Regions from separate parts of the Homo sapiens genome. Here region 1 is linked to region 2. The links are contacts of gene promoters, found by promoter capture Hi-C in human tissues and cell types (Jung and others, 2019). All regions are on one chromosome and are shown on one strand. The core of a region is centred on a gene start or on the middle of the fragment in contact, and the rest is flanking DNA. Distances in the headings are between cores, read along the strand shown. Region 1 overlaps ZNF136 (zinc finger protein 136). Region 2 holds the start of FBXW9 (F-box and WD repeat domain containing 9).

What was found. The method cuts DNA at HindIII sites, captures the fragments that hold promoters and counts their contacts. A contact is called where the count stands out against the background at its distance.
Region 1: a fragment that was not itself captured here is called in contact with the fragment with the promoter of FBXW9 in region 2 in 1 of the 25 tissues and cell types used here (hippocampus).

The regions. Positions count from the first base shown.
Region 1 is chr19:12,183,189-12,185,888 of GRCh38, reverse strand. It overlaps ZNF136 (zinc finger protein 136), which reads right to left. Exons shown (of 4, transcript NM_003437.5): 2 at 1-104. Among named protein-coding and RNA genes, the nearest start is that of ZNF136, 21 kb to the right of the region's middle. The HindIII fragment of the contact is 4,023 bases long and covers 1-2,700 here.
Region 2 is chr19:12,695,253-12,697,952 of GRCh38, reverse strand. It overlaps FBXW9 (F-box and WD repeat domain containing 9), which reads left to right and starts at 1,322. Exons shown (of 10, transcript NM_032301.3): 1 at 1,322-1,780. The coding sequence starts at 1,372. RefSeq lists enhancers at 993-1,052, 1,363-1,412. The HindIII fragment of the contact is 8,232 bases long and covers 1-2,700 here.

The sequences.
Region 1 (2,700 bases), core at 24-2,523, 510 kb after region 2:
GTTTCCCACATCACATCTCTGTAGAGATTCTTCTGGGAAGGATCTAGCAAAGCCCACTCCTCCTGGGTGAAGTTCACATCTACATCCTCAAAAGCCACCGAGTCCTGAAACATCCCACATATGTGGAGAGGAGAATGGGTGAGACAGACAGGGCTGGGGAGCTGTACTCAATTCATAAGAAGTTCACATGTTTCAGGGGTCTGCAAACATTTACTCCACTGTTTGGTCATCATACTCACTTCCTTCCACACAGCAACTCTCATACTAGAATGGAACTATCGGGTAGAACAATAGCAGTGTCTGATCATCTTTCTTGGTGGTGGTTGCAAGGAGTAATACGTGCTGCCTGAGTCCCAGCTAATGTCTGCTCATACAGTGGACCTGTAGAACCTGTCATAACGAAGTCCTACCACCTACTATGCAAAAGAGTTTATATTAGCAGTCCTGAGACTGCTTACCCTTAAAAAAAGGCTCCTCACTCCTCACAACATTCATCTGAGGTAGGAGACCAACAGGACTTGTATTCTGATCACAACCCTACTGGCCAAAACAAGATCTGGCACAGGTAGGATAAAGTAAAGAAAGGGGCCAAAACCAGCAGACGACAAGAACAGCGATCTCTAGATGCTCTCACTGCTCATTAGCATAAAACACTCCCACCAATGCTATGACAGCTTACAAATGCCATGGCAATGACCTGAAAGTTATCATTCCTTCCTTAGAAAGTTTTAAATAACCCACCACTTAATTTGCATATAATTGAAAGTGGGTATAAATATAGTTGCCAAGAGACCATATGTTGCTGACTCTGGGTGTACTGCCTATGAGTTAGCACTGATCCACAAAGACCAGTACTGTTAAATAAAACACTGTTATCTAACACCACTGGCCTGCCCTTGAATTCTTCCCTGGGCAAAGCTGGAAACCATCCTGGGATAAGCCCCAATTTTAGGGCGCACCTGTCCTGCATCACATCCATTCCTGGTATCTGGGAAACGGATTTGGGGAAGGAGCCCAATGACCTATGTAAGAGTAGCTCGGTGCCTAAACTCTTTATGGAAAAAATATGAAAATTTCTGGCGTCCCACCTTCTGAGAGTTTGGGAATTTGTTACACGCGCAACACATAGTGCCCACCTGATGAGCCCCCAGAAACACTCCAGGAAGCATTTCGCATGTGTTCTCACAATTGGTTACTGGGAAAATTAAGCCCATCTTCTGTTATTATACTAAGAGAGAATACTTGCAAGCTTGTACCTATCCTGCAGATCAAATATAATTAAGTACTAAATGAGACTAATGAAGGATTTTTTACCTTTTTTTTTTTTTTTTTAGACGGAGTCTGGCTCTCTGTTGCCCAGGCTGGAGCGGCGTGATCTCGGCTCACTGCAAGCTCCGCTTCCCGGGTTCATGCCATTCTCCTGCCTCAGCCTCCTGAGTAGCTGGGACTACAGGCACCTGCCACCACGCCTGACTAATTTTTTGTATTTTTTAGTACAGACAGGGTTTCACCATGTTAGCCAGGATGGTCTCAATCTCCTGACCTCGTGATCTGCCCACCTCGGCCTCCCAAAGTGCTGGGATTACAGGCGTGAGCCACCACACCCAGCCCTCTTTTTTTTTTTGGATGGAGTCTTGCTCTGTCGCCCAGGCTGGAGTGCAGTGGCAGGGTCTTGGGTCACTGCAACCTCTGCCTCCCAGGCTCAAGGGATTATCCCGCCTCAACCTCCCGAGGAGGTGGGAGTACAGGCACGTGCCACCACACCCAGCTAATTTTTGTATGTTTAATAGAGATGGGGTTTCACCATGTTGGCCAGGCTGGACCCAAACTCCTGACCGCAAGTATCTGCCAGCCTTGGCCTCCCGAAGTGCTGGGATTACAGGCGTGAGCCACCACACCCAGCTTGATGAATCTTCACTAAATTGGTGAAAATAAATTGGTGAATTCACCAATTTATCTACCTACTTTCTCATCAAAATGTATCAGTGGCCGGGTGAACTGGCTCACACCTGTAATTCCATCACATTGGGAGGTTGAGGCAGAAGGATTGTTTGAGCCCAGGAATTCAACATCAGTTTAGGCAACACAGTGAGAACCTCCATCTCTACAGAAAAATTTAAAAATTAGCCAGCAGTGGTGGTGCACGCCTGTAGTCCCAGCTACTCAGGAGGCTGAGGTGAGAGGACTGCTTGAGACCAGGAGTATGAGAATGCAGCAAGCTATGATGGGTGCCAATGCACTCCAACCTGGGCAAAAGAGGAAGACCCTGTCTCAAGATAAACATAGATAGATAGATAGATAGATAGATAGATAGATAGATAGATAGATAGATAGATAGATTCAGTTATGTGAAGCCATAATGAAGAGTGATTCTCCCTATTTCTCTGAGCTTTTTCTCCCTGTAGCCTTCTCAAGGCTACACTCTAGGATTCTATTTGAAATCACAAAAAAGGAGCTGGGAGTGGTGGCTCACGCCTAAAATCCCAGCACTTCGGGAGGCCAAGGTAGGAGGATCACTTGAGCTCAGGAGATTGAGACCAGCCTGGGCAACATGGTGAAACCCTATCTCTACAAAAAATTAGCCAGTCGTGTAGCCTGCACCTATGGTTCTAGCTGCTCAGGAGGCTGAGGTGGGAGGATTGCTTGAACCGGGGAGGTGGAGGTTGCAGTGAGACGTGATTGTGCCACTGAACTCCAGCC
Region 2 (2,700 bases), core at 73-2,572:
TCACCTTGTTGGCCAGGCTGGTCTTGAACTCCTGACCTCAAGTGATTAACCCACCTTGCCTCTCGAAGTGGTGGGATTACAGGCCTGAGCCACCGCACCCGGCCAACATGCTGTTTTAGTAAGTGTGATGTTAGGCCGGGCGCAGTGGCTCACGCCTGTCATCCCATCACTTCGGGAGGCTGAGGCGGGCGGATCACGAGGTCAGGAGTTTGAGACCAGCCTGGCCAACATAGTGCGACCCCGTCTCTACTGAAAAATACAAAAATTAGCCAGGAGTGGTGGCGCGTGCCTGTATTCCCAGCTACTCTAGAGGCTGAGGCAGGAGAATCGCTTGAACCCGGGAGGCGGAGGTTGCAGCCAGCCGAGATCGCGCCACTGCACACCAGCCTGGGTGACAGAGTGAGACTCCGTCTCAGAAAAAAGAAAAAGGTAGCTTTCCACCAGGCGCGATGGTTCACGCCTGTAATCCTGGTACTTTGGGAGACCAAGTTGGGGGCGGATGGCTTGAGCTCAGGAGTTCCAGACCAGCCTGGACAACGTAGTGAAACCCTGTCTTTACAAAAGAATACAAAAATTAGCCGGGTGTGGTGGTGCGCGCCTGTAGTCCCAGCTACCTGGGGGGCCGAGGTGGAGGATCACTTGAGTCCAGAAAGCGGAGGTTGCAATGAGCCAAGCACTCCGCTTGGAGGACTGAACTGCTGTCCTCCAAGGTTGGGTTGGGGAATGGGGTCTGGAGAGGTAGTTCTGAGGCCCCAGTTCCTTTCTCAAAAAAAAAAAAAAAAAAAAAAAAAGTCACTTAACTGATGCCTCTGCAGTGTAACTGCATATTTCTGGCTCTGGGAAAAGAGGCAAGAGTTCCAATCTCTACTCCTTGAACTCGGAAAGGGGCCTTTGGGTTTCTAAGCTCAGTGTCACATATAACAGATGCCTTCGTTAAAGCAGTGTTTATTTTATGTCTAATTTAAAGAGACAGGGTCTCACTATGTTGCGCAGGTTGGAGTACAGTGGCACAACCATGGCTCACTGCAGTCTCGAACTCCTGGACTCAAGGGATCCTACCCCTTCACCTTCCTGAGTATCTGGAACTACAGGCGCGCGCCACCCCGCCTGGCTTGAGTTTCGTTTTTAGCTAGAGTTGGCTGGCTCTCGGTATCGGCTAGTTTAAAAAGCGCAGAAACAGGAACCTGCATTTTCCAGCCTAAGGCCGACGCAGTTGCAAGAGACCCTGTAAGCGGGGCGATGTTCTGTATTAAGCCAGTGTCTGACTTCGTCGCTTCCGGTGGGCGCATAAACGTCATCAGACAGCGCCGGAAGTGCCCTCGTGCTGCCTAGGAGACAAGACGCGAGGCCGGCAGCGCCCACCCGGTCGCAATGGAGCTTCCCCTAGGGCGGTGCGATGATTCCCGCACCTGGGACGATGACTCGGACCCAGAGTCAGAGACAGACCCAGACGCGCAGGCCAAGGCCTACGTGGCCCGCGTTCTCAGTCCGCCAAAATCCGGGCTGGCGTTCTCGCGCCCCTCGCAGCTATCCACACCCGCCGCGTCCCCGAGCGCTTCGGAGCCTCGGGCCGCGTCCAGGGTTTCGGCCGTAAGTGAGCCGGGCCTTCTGAGCCTTCCCCCGGAGCTGCTGCTCGAGATCTGCTCCTACCTGGACGCCCGCCTCGTGCTCCACGTCCTGTCGCGGGTGTGCCACGCGCTCCGCGACCTCGTGTCTGACCATGTCACCTGGAGGCTACGCGCGCTACGCCGCGTACGCGCGCCCTACCCAGTGGTGGAAGGTGCGCGGGGCCGGGGGCCGGGGACCGGGGGCCGGGGGCGCCCGCCCAGGTCAGGCTTGGGGCGGGGAAGAGGTACATGGGGTGTTCCGGATGCAGCCTCTGGTGCAGGCTTCGTGGCTGTCCTGGCTCAGGCTGGAGGCTAAGGTAGTTACTGGTGGTGCCGAAGCCCCTGAGGACCTCTGGGTGGACCACGAGGCAGTCAGGCACTTGGGGTCCTGAGGCTGTGAAACCCTAACATGGGGCTGTGGTTCCTGGACGACTCAGGATCCAAATATCCTCAGTCTTGGGGTCTTGTGGTACTAAGCCACTGACCCCTGATTGGGGATTGACACAGGGACTTGAAGTCTTAGGCTCTGGAGTTTATGCTGGGGCTCAAAGTGAGCCCAAGGATCCTCAGGTTCTGAGTCCAGCTTAGAAGCTGAGACAGCACCTGTTGATGTCAAAACTCCTGAGCCCTAGAGCCTTGACCCAGTTAGGGGTGAGACAGTGGCTCTTGGCCCTGAGTTGATTGGTTCCTGAGGGAAGACAGCTTGGGACCTTTGAATCGATATTGTTGATCCTGATACAGCTGGATCCTCAGGCCCTTAAGCCAAGATGTATTACAGCTTGGGTGTTTGATACCCTTAACCTGGAAGCTTTGATTCTGCTTAGAGAGGAATCAGGATCACTCCGGGATCAGTGATTCTCAAGGTGTTGCCATCCAACCCCCAGGTCAGACTCTCCCAAACAGCTTAATAAACATAGATGCTTGGACCCCGTCCATATCACAGAATCTGCATCTGGGGCTTGCATTCTGCATCTTGACAAGGCTCCCTGGTTTCCAGATACTGTTTGAGAAACAGCCCCCTTGGTCTGGTTCAGATGGCTGAGGCAGGAAGGGTTAGTCATGAGGTCCCAGCTTCTATGCTGAGCCTGAGGTC